3 separate regions of the Homo sapiens genome follow, and all the other regions are linked to region 1. Evidence: promoter capture Hi-C in 16 types of primary human blood cells and fetal thymus (Javierre and others, 2016). All regions are on one chromosome and are shown on one strand. The core of a region is centred on a gene start or on the middle of the fragment in contact, and the rest is flanking DNA. Distances in the headings are between cores, read along the strand shown. Region 1 holds the start of KCNQ1 (potassium voltage-gated channel subfamily Q member 1). Region 2 overlaps NAP1L4 (nucleosome assembly protein 1 like 4). Region 3 has its middle 13 kb from the start of MIR4686.

Region 1 (3,508 bases), core at 334-2,833:
TGCCCTTCTGCACCTTCACTGATATGCTTCCCAGGAAGGTACCCTCTCCTCGGCCTCCCTTGTGTTATCACAGCGCCCAGCACAAGCTGGGACCCACTCCATCCACTCTTGCTGCAAATACAGACTGTGCACTCCTGTGTGGCACCTCACTAGGGTGGGGAGTCAGGCGTCAAGGGCCTGGGCTGGACTCCGTCCACGATAAAAGAGCAGACTTTTGGCAGGGGGTGGTAGATACATCAAATTGACCCAGGGTGCTCAGGGACGACCTGGAAGTGTCACATGAGTTATGGGTCTCCTGGCGGGGCGGAGAGTCACCGCTGAGCTCCACCTTTAGTCCCTGCCTCAGGGCTGTGTGCAGTATCCTGAAAAAAGCCGGTCTCTTCTGTTGGCTGCCCCCCACCCCCCCCCCAAGCCTGAGACGTGCTGAGACCCAAATGCCAGTAGCGGGCGGGAGGCAGTGCAGAGACCTGTGAAAATCTTCCGATGTGACCAACCCACCCCCACCCAGGGGAATCCACGGGGCGCAGCGGCAGCGCGGTCTCGACGGTGGGGAGGACAAGGCGCCCATTCTCCAAGTTACTAGGGTGGCGCAAGCGCCTCTCCCTTTAACTGCCCAGGCAGCCCCGCCTGCTATGCCCGGCAGTCAAACCAGGTCCAGACCCCGGCTGTGCCGCCCCCACCCCCCAGCAGCCCTGCCGGCTCCCCACCCACACAGCTCCCACTGGGAGGTACCTGACAGTGGTGGTCCCATCTCACCCTCCCGGTCCAAGGGCCCTGGTGGGAAGCGACCCGAGCGTATTCGCCGCCCGCAGCTCGCGCGCCTGGGCACCCGGGGGCGCTCACAGTGATCGCGGGGCCAGCACACCCTCACCCAGGACATCCCTTTCCTCCCCCCAACCCCAACTCCGGAGTGGCTCAGAGGGAGGGAAAGTAGATGCCGGCACCCTACCCCGCCCCTCCTGCCCCCGCTGTGCCGTTCTCGGTCGTGGTATCGGCCAGGCCTTACCCCTTCCTCCCTGGCGCAGCTGGGGTCCTCCTCCGGGCCAGGCAGAGCAGGCGGGCATCAGAAGTGGGGGCCAAGCAGGTGGGTGAGGGCAGGGCAGGAGCAAGCAGGGGAGATGCAGACGGGGCGGGGCCAAGCAGGTGGGTGAGGGCGGGGCCAAGCAGGTGGGCGGGGAGGGGGCGGGGCCAGGCGGGGTAAATGCACACTGGAACGGGGCCAAACAGGTGGGCGAGGAGGGGGCGGGGCCAAGCGGGATAGATGACACGAGCGGGGCTAAGCAGGTGGGCTCGGGCGGGGGTGGGGGTGGGGGCGGGGGCGCAGGCGGGGGCGGGGGCGCGGACAGGCCAAGCCAGGGGGTGAGGCGGAGGCAGGGCCAGGCCGGTCCGTGGGGAGAGGGCGGGCCAAGCCGGTGGGCGCGGGCAGGGACGCCCTGTGCGCGCCGGACCGGCGGGGGCGGGGCGTGCAGGCGGGGGCGGGGCACGCCGTCCCATGGGACCGGCCCTCGGCCACTGCCCCCTCCGGCCCCGCCCCGAGCGCCCGGGCTGGGCCGGCAGCGGCCCCCCGCGGCGGGGCTGGCAGCAGTGGCTGCCCGCACTGCGCCCGGGCGCTCGCCTTCGCTGCAGCTCCCGGTGCCGCCGCTCGGGCCGGCCCCCCGGCAGGCCCTCCTCGTTATGGCCGCGGCCTCCTCCCCGCCCAGGGCCGAGAGGAAGCGCTGGGGTTGGGGCCGCCTGCCAGGCGCCCGGCGGGGCAGCGCGGGCCTGGCCAAGAAGTGCCCCTTCTCGCTGGAGCTGGCGGAGGGCGGCCCGGCGGGCGGCGCGCTCTACGCGCCCATCGCGCCCGGCGCCCCAGGTCCCGCGCCCCCTGCGTCCCCGGCCGCGCCCGCCGCGCCCCCAGTTGCCTCCGACCTTGGCCCGCGGCCGCCGGTGAGCCTAGACCCGCGCGTCTCCATCTACAGCACGCGCCGCCCGGTGTTGGCGCGCACCCACGTCCAGGGCCGCGTCTACAACTTCCTCGAGCGTCCCACCGGCTGGAAATGCTTCGTTTACCACTTCGCCGTGTGAGTATCGCCACCGGCGACGGCCGGCACGAAGGTGCTTCCTGAGAGCTGGTGTGGGGGAGCTCTGTCCCAGCGCCACCTGCCCCGTCGGAGCTGCGACCCCGGAGCAGAGGAGGGAAGGAAGTGGGGAAACGCAGAAACACAAACTCTGCACTCTCCCTTGAAGTTCAGAGGCGCTGCTGTGTCTGGGGGTGCGCATCTTCTCGCAGGCCCGGCGTGGGGAGGGAGCCGGCTGGGGAGGGGACCACCTGGAGCCCAGAATTTGGCTCCACACCTCCGGGAGGGTAGTCCAGGTGTGAATCCTTCTGGGAAGAGAAGCGTGCTGGGGAGCGCACCCTTGGGTGCAGTAAGATAACTCCTCAAGGTCGGCTGAGACTCGAGGCTCAGGAGCCCCCAAGAGAGAAGGCCCCTGATGTCCGGTGCCGCATCTCAGACCCCCTGAGGCCCAGGTGGACTCTGGGGCAGGGGGCTGTCCAGGATAGGAAGGTGACGGTGGCGGTGCTCCCTGAGGGCTCAGCATGCCACGGGCCGTCCCCACGGGCCCCACATTAACTAATTGAACCAAGCTCATGAAAACCTGGCTTGATGCAGAGAGCGGAGAGGCACGTTTGCAGCTCTCACTAAGAGGCAGCTGTGCTCCCGGAGAAAGCAGCGCTGGTAGCAGAGGCACCTGGCCCCCCTGTTACCAGGTGGTTCCAATTCCCGGTACAGCGTGCCTGAGCAGGGCTGGGCACTGGATTTCTCAGGGACAGGCCTGGGAAGTCACCTCCGGGAAGGTCCAGGCTGCTCTCCTCCATGCCTGCCTGGGGCCTTCCCCCGCTGCCCCAGTGGCCCTACTTCCTGGCTGCCCAGCCAGCGGCCTTTTGGTGTGGTGCCAGCCTCTGGCCTGGGAGCCTCTACCCAGACATCCCATGGCTGATGGCTGTGGGGCTCACCTGAGGGCTGAAGGGTGGTCTCCCTGAGCGTCCTCAGGTGGAAGCATCTCCTCTGCCTCGGGCAGGCTCAGTAGAGAACTGGCTGGAGGGCATCCAGAGGCCTGTCCATGCCTGCTGGCAGCTGCCACCAGGGCCTCAGGGCGGGTGACAGCAGGAGCCAGGCCCCAAATGGCTTCAAGCATCGTCTCAGGTGAGGGGGTGGGGTAGGGGTCGCAGGGCTACTGCCTTCCTTGCTAAGAGGTGGCCTTCCACATCAGGAAGGGGAAGTCTTACCCACCTCCCTCCTCAAAGATGTGGTTGGGGGGTGATCTTGGAGACTTTTCCCCACCCCAGCTCCCAAGCCCCTGTCTCCTGACATGTCAGTGGGTGCCTGAGCCACAGCCGCTGCTGGTCTGTGAGAGGAGCTGGCTCTGCTCGTGGCTGCAACAGCGGGGGCTCGGCTTGGGGTTTGGGAGATATTTGTGTGCAGTGACCCCAGGGGAACCCAGTCCGATGCCACTGTGCAAATGTCTA
Region 2 (3,508 bases), core at 366-2,865, 510 kb after region 1:
TTTCTACAAGGCTGATCGAACCAGCAGCATAATGTTATTGGATACAGGAATCTGGGTATCATTTTACATCTCATACAAAGGGAAAAGAAACCTTAGTAGAAATATATTAAAACTTTGGTGTTTAATCTTTAAAGTGATCAATAAGGTGCTCAAAGGTGAACCTCCACCATTAGTCAATTGTCTTGAATCAGTTTCTCCTACATCCAAATACATCATTGGTCAGACTAAAAATCAAGTTTCAAACATGAGACTTACACCAAAAGCAAAACCACCTTATCACTACTGGTTGCATAACAAGGGTAGTGCATGAAAATGCAGCTTCATTTATCAACATTTCCCATTTTGTTGAGCTCACACCATGTATTTGCTTAGAGCCAACTTCGGTGGAACTTAGAAGGGCCCTACTGTGCTGGTGTGGAGTTCACACAGTGTGCACAGCCTCCTGGCGCCACGCAGCAGCCAGGATGAGATGTGGCCACGGTGCAGCGCCCTTCCGCTCTAAGGACCCTAACTGGCATCAGGCAGGGAAAGGCTTCTCAATATTCTTCCATTTCACGTCAGATCCAACGAGCCTCCAGCAGGCTCCAGGGCCTATTCCAAGGCTCTAAGGACAGCATTTTGCCCTTAAGGGGCTGTGCACAGGGGCTGCTCCAGATGCATCACCCACCTGGGCAGAGCAGGAGCTGCCACGTGCAGAGAAGACAAGACCAGGGTTCCCACATTCACCTCCTCCTCCAACAACTTTCTAGTGTTGGGGTACGGTCTAGAAAGTAACATTAGTAAAACACTTTATGCCAACACTTACTGAGTCATTGCTCTGTGCCAGGTGCTATGTTAAGGGCTTAACAAGTAACCAGAGTCTTTACCATGAGCTCTACTTACAGCTGAGGAAACTGAAGCTCAAGGAGGTGGTGGAGCTACTAAAGGGAGAATGGGGATGCGAGTCTGAGCAGTCTAATCTGAGCTGGCACTTCTAGCCTCTAACTGACACTGCTCATCAGTAGTACCTGTGCTGAACGTATTGTGAATGAAACGCACATGTACTATAAGCAAATGTGGCACAGTGCTCACCAGCAGTACAGATACCGCATATAAGTAAGCAAATAGCACACATGCATATTCAAGTCCTTTAAACTGACGGGTGTATGATCAAAACAGTTTCAGATAAGCTTTCCAATGTGTAGCCACTAGCCCTTAGCTCACTATTTAAATTTAAACTAAGGTAAATGAAATGTTCAGTTCTTCAGTCTCAGCAGCCATATTTCAAGTCCTCAAGTGGTCAGTCCTACTGCACTGGACCAAGCAGGCAGAGGACAGTTCCATCAACAGAGAAAGTTCTACTGGAAAGTGCTGGTCTAGAATTTGTAAAACTATGTCTTGGCAGCTACCTGACTGTCCATGTTCCCTGACCTGCAATCACCTCCCAACCTAGGGATGAGCCAGCAAGTTGAGTTTTAGAAGTTAAATGAACAGTCTAAGACCTAACAGCTGATAAAGAGCACGCTGGCCTATTCTCCCCACTGGTGGAACTCAGTACAATGGGAGAGGTGTGAGGAGATGTTGGCCTTTACTGCCACAGGGGGCTAAGGCCCTTGAACCCACCTAAGCTCTTGCCGCCCTGTCTGAAGCCCCAACAGACCAGACCTTCTAAGAAAAGAAACCTAAGAGCTCCACAAGAAAGAGAGTATCATCTAGAACATACTTCCAGTAACAGTCTATAAAACAAAACTTTATTTTCCACAGATCAAGAAGACTTGAAGCTGCTTGAGCCTTGGTGAGGATGGGAGTTTCTAAGCGGTACTTGGGCTGTGCACCCGCAAGTTCTGACTGTGGAAGAGCTGGCTTCCCTCAAGCCCAGAAAGGAAAGTGACATGCAATCTTGTTGTTTTCTTCGGGAGCACGGGTTTCTTTTTTTTCCTTTTTACCTAATTAGATAGAAGTTCAGGAATTTCTATTTCTTTTGGGTTGATGAACCACAGGCTAGCATAAGTCCACTGTCAATAAATGTTTGTTGTGGCCAGACCTCCATAAAAGAGATATTCCCTGTGTTCACAAGTTCCCTGAAGCTTAGGTTTTGAGAGAATATTGTTGAGTCACTAGGCAGGGCTCACATAGGAAACTGGCAATCACCTCTGAAACTGCTTCACAGACACCTGCTTTTCCTGCTCTGTTCCTCAGACTTCTCCTCTTCAAGCGTATTCCCCCCACAACAAGGACAGCAGCTTGGACTACATATCTGGCTGATGATGTAATAAAAAGATTAGGCATGGGGGTTTCCTAAGCCACAATTCAGGGCCACTCTGCACCAACAGAGATAAGCACCCAGGTGGAAGCCCCCCTTCCCCGAGCCTCATACATTGTCATCATCTTCTATGGCCTCCCCAGTGAAGTACAGCACAGCCCGCGGGACTATCCGCTCACGGAAAAAGTGTCCAATTTCAAAATCAGAGGCTAATGTGAATTCAGAATCTTCATCCTGAGGAGGAAAAACCTACGTGTTAACTCATTTTAATGGGATAAAAACATTCACTTCACCACCCTCAGCCAAACCTCAGCCCCTCACTTTTGATTTACTTAACTTAAAACACCAAACTCCTGCACTGCTGGGGGACAGCCACTAGACACTCAAAGCCCCTTTAAAACAACTTTAAGTAGCTTTAAAGAGCTACTGAAGCAAAATGGCAGAGAAAGTGGGAAGTGAGGGCCCTACAGCTCCACAACTTGTCCAAAGGTCTCACCCAGAGTAGGCGGTATCAGTCTCACATATGGGAAACAGGCAGTATTAAAGCACTGCACATTTGCTACTGAAATCAACATATGAAACACATACTTTTACTTAGATGTGTAATGATTTCAAATTAATCCCAGAGTTTTAGGAAACAGAAATGGATTTTTTTTTTTTAAGAGACAGGGTCTTATTCTATCACCCAGGTTGGAGGGCAGTGGTGCAATCACAGCTCACTCCAGCCTCAAGCTCCTGGGCCCCAGCGACCCTGGAACTACACAGTGCACCACCATGTCCAGCTAATTTATTATTTTATCTTTTGAGACGGAGTCTTGCTCTGTCGCCCAATGGAATACGGTGGTGCAATCTCAGCTCACTGCAACCTCCTCCTCTCGGGTTCAAGTGATTCTCCTGCTTGAGCCTCCTGAGTAGCTGAGATTACAGGCGCTGCCACCGTGTCCAACTAATTTTTTTTTTTTTTGGTATTTTAAGCAGAAACGGGGTTTCACCATGTTGACCAGACTGGTCTTGAACTCCTGACCTCTGGTGATCCACCCACCTTGGCCTCCCACAGTGCTGGTATTACGGGCGTGAACCACCATGTTCGGCTGGCTAATTTATTTGGTTTTAATTTTTTGTGGAGATGGGGTTGTGCTATGTTGCCCAGGCTGGTCTCAAACTCCTGGACTCGTGCAGTCCTCCCACCTCAGCCTCCCAAAGCATTAAGATCACTGGCATACCCAGTCCACACACAGCCAGGACTGGACTTTTTTTAACAAGTAG
Region 3 (3,508 bases), core at 385-2,884, 260 kb before region 1:
GTTTTTTAAGAGATGGGGCCTCACTCTGTCACCCAGGAGTGCAGTGGCACCATCATAGCTCACTGCAGCTTCAAACTCCTGGGCTCAAGCAATCCTCCCACCTCAGCCTCCCAAGGAGCTGGGAATGCAGGTGCGCACCACCACGCCCAGCTAATGTTTTAATTTCTTGTAGAGATAGGGGATCTCCATATGTTGCCCAGGCTGGTGTTGGACTCCTGGCCTGGGTGATCCTCCTGCCTTGGCCTCCTAAAGTGTTGGAATTATAGGCATGAGTCACTGCACCCAGCCTTCTTTCAATTCTTTTGGGGCTAGACCTAGAGGTGGCATTGTTGGGCCATGTTGGACCATTACACACTCCCCCCAACAGAGCACAAGACTTCCAATTTCTCTACATCTATATTATTTTTAATTTTAGTTACATGAGCAACAGATTCTCCTTTGAACACACACATACACACGTGCACAAACACAAATATAAAAAGGTGCGTGTGCTCCTGGCCCCCCAGCCTGGATACTGGAGGGTGAGCCCCTTTGGGGAGGAGGGAAATCATGAGCTTATGAGCTCTGGGAGCCCACATTCATGTTCTTAGGAATGCCCCAGCACCTCTCCCGTCACACTCCGCCAGCGCGACCCAACAGCGTCTGTCTTCCAGGTCATCATCCACGCCCGACATTACAAAGCTTGAATGACACTTCAGCGGCATCTCAGGTCCGCTTGCTTCCCGAGCATCTCTACTTCTCCCTCTCTCGAACGATCCCTTCACTTCCTCCCCTCATCTTCCCTTTGGAGCTTACACTTTTCCTGATGAGATGTGGGAATTCTTTACGCATTCCCGACATGAATCCTTTTCGGCAGGAAGTATCATCTCCCAGAGCCTGGTCCACCCTTTACCGTGTTTATGGAGACTGTGGTCATCAAGAAGGCTTGGCAATGATGTGGCTTCGGGGAGCCACGCTTGTCAACCGTCTCCTTTGTGGTTTCTGCCATCCGGATCTTGTCCAACAACCTACCCCAAAAACAGCAATGTTCCCCCAAAGAAGGGAAGCACCAGCACCTTTCTCGTGCACACTGGGGTAGGGGACTGTGTTCCCAGAAAAGCACATGTAATGTCATAGCGCAGTTTTGCATTTAGAAGCAATAGCAACCGATGGTCTATTGTTTCTCTTTTACAAACCACAGATGGTGGGCTGGGCAGAATCTTCTGAATTGGGGTGAATGTATCTGTGAGTGCCTGTGCAGGGGAGGCAGCATGGAGGGCATGGCCTCCAGGCAATGCTGATGCTGAGGTTTTGATGTTTATCAAAGGGATCAAGGGTTAGGAAGGCAGAGAGAGCTGTCAGCTCCACAAGCACTGAGATGCCGCAGGGAGCCCTGCGGAGGGAGCAGGCAGGCCATGCACCCCACCTTCCTTGGGGAGGGCCTGGGCGCCAGGGCTGGGCGACATGAGGAGGCTGACTCTGTCCAGGCCACCTCGGGATCCCCGCCCCCTGCGCCAGCGCGCCTCTGGAGTGGCTTCCCATTCGGACCAGAATGGGGACCCTCAGGCTTGCATCCTCTGAGGGTTCGTCTACGGGCACAGGGGGCCTGGGCTGGCCCTGGACTCGAGGCCGATGTCATTACCGCTGCCCTGACAGTGTCAGAGCCTGCGCCTGGCTCGCGCTCCAGAGAAGGAGCTGCAAAACTCAGCCTAGATTGGCAGTCTCCCAAGGAAGCTGGGCGAGGGCGTTCAGCTGGAGCTGGGGTGGGGGCATAGGGAAGGCGGTGGTGCCAGAGCGGGTTTGGCTGTTTGGAAGGGGGTGGGGATGGCAGGATCTCCAAATGACCTCCTCTGGAAGGAGCCCTTTCCTTCTAGATTCAGCTCCTGGGGTCCCCACCCTTATGATCCTCAGAGTGCTGTATGCCCCCTCCCCACTGTCCGCCTGGGCAGGGAGCAGTCACGGGGTGGAGCTGGCGTCCAACATCCTGGCCCCTCTTCCTGGCTCCCACCTGGCACCCAGGTGTAAATGGCTGTGGTTTGGGGCGTTCCAGTCCCTCCCCATCTGACCTCTGCTTGCCACCTTCTCCGATCCAGGCTATTGCCCCCTCAGCCCCAGGGCCTCTCACCTTCTCCACATCCCCACGGAGAGCTGGGAGTCCAAACAAATCCCACGGTCCATGCAGCCTGCCACAGCTCCATGAGACACCCAGGCTTAGTGAGGACCCCTGAAATGTGTACACAGGCCTCACGGTTCTTCCCAGCCACCCTCACTCTATCTCTTTCCAGCAAACACCTCCCAATACAGGTGCTTCATTGATTTCATCAAACGCACGTTGCCTTGGCCACTCTCTTACTCAAGCACTTTCAATGGCTCCCACTGCCTGAAAATGATGGCATGACCTCAGGTCTTGCCAACGCAGGGCCCCTGGTGGGCCGGACCCCCCACTCTCTAGCACTTCCCCTCCTCTGCGTCCTTCTGCTCACAACCCCCACGCTCCAGTCTCAGAGCCCATGGGAGGGGCCTCCTTTGACATTAGGAGTAAAATTTCCAGGCATTTTTAGACAACAACACGTTTGAATATTGACTCTGACCTGCCGTAGATGCCCCGGTAAGCTTATTTTATAAAGGACCCCAGCACAAAGGCCTTCTCAGCCTGATATCCCTGTGGGCACCACAGGATGGCGCCCAGACGCAAGCACTTGGGCAGCCTTCACCCAGAGGACGCACGTGTGCTCCCTCGGAGCCTCCAGGTGAAGCCACTGCAACCCCCGCTGAGGAGACAAAAGATGAGGGCGGCCCACCCAGGCCTCCCTGGAGAGGCTGCTGAAAAGGGCGGCTGCATTCGAAGGGCAGCAGAGGCAGGAGCAGGAGGCACGGCCGGGCGAAGGGGGCCCTTCCCAGGATGGCAGCCCGAGAAGGAAGCGGCGCCAGGCAGCCAGGGACTGACTGCTCTCCATGACAAGCTGCGAACACAAGATATCTAAGTGCGTGCACACACACAGACACACACACACACAAACACACCACACACCACATACACACCACACACCACACACCACACACACACACAGATGCACACCACACCATACACACACCACACGCCACATACAACACACACAAACCACACACACCACATACACACCACACACATGCACACCACACACACCACACCACATCACATACAAACACACCACACACAAACCACACATATACACACCATACACACAAACACCACACGCCACATACGCACACATACGCACATGCACACCACACACACAAACACCACATGCCACATACACACCACACACACACACCACACACCACATACACACAAGCTACATGCCACACACACCATACACACACCACACACAAACACCACACACACCTACATACATACCATGCCCCACATACACACAAGCTACACGCCACACACAACACACACAAACCACACACACCGCACATACCACACACGCCTACATACATACCACATAGACACAAACCACATGCCACATGCAACACACATAAACCA

What was found. The method cuts DNA at HindIII sites, captures the fragments that hold promoters and counts their contacts. A CHiCAGO score of 5 or more calls a contact.
Region 2: a fragment that was not itself captured here is called in contact with the fragment with the promoter of KCNQ1 in region 1 in 1 of 17 cell types (naive CD4 T cells); the score reaches 6.1 in naive CD4 T cells.
Region 3: a contact is called between a fragment that was not itself captured here and the fragment with the promoter of KCNQ1 in region 1, in 1 of 17 cell types (total CD8 T cells). The highest score is 5.1, in total CD8 T cells.

The regions. Positions count from the first base shown.
Region 1 is chr11:2,443,425-2,446,932 of GRCh38, forward strand. KCNQ1 (potassium voltage-gated channel subfamily Q member 1) reads left to right here and starts at 1,584. Exons shown (of 16, transcript NM_000218.3): 1 at 1,584-2,060. The coding sequence starts at 1,675. TRPM5 (transient receptor potential cation channel subfamily M member 5) reads right to left here and starts at 1,090. Exons shown (of 29, transcript NM_014555.4): 1 at 1,007-1,090. RefSeq lists silencers at 1,384-1,493, 1,504-1,573. The HindIII fragment of the contact is 13,739 bases long and covers 1-3,508 here.
Region 2 is chr11:2,952,171-2,955,678 of GRCh38, forward strand. It overlaps NAP1L4 (nucleosome assembly protein 1 like 4), which reads right to left. Exons shown (of 16, transcript NM_005969.4): 12 at 2,357-2,476. Among named protein-coding and RNA genes, the nearest start is that of SNORA54, 10 kb to the right of the region's middle. The HindIII fragment of the contact is 897 bases long and covers 1,168-2,064 here.
Region 3 is chr11:2,184,204-2,187,711 of GRCh38, forward strand. No RefSeq gene overlaps it. Among named protein-coding and RNA genes, the nearest start is that of MIR4686, 13 kb to the left of the region's middle. The HindIII fragment of the contact is 1,911 bases long and covers 680-2,590 here.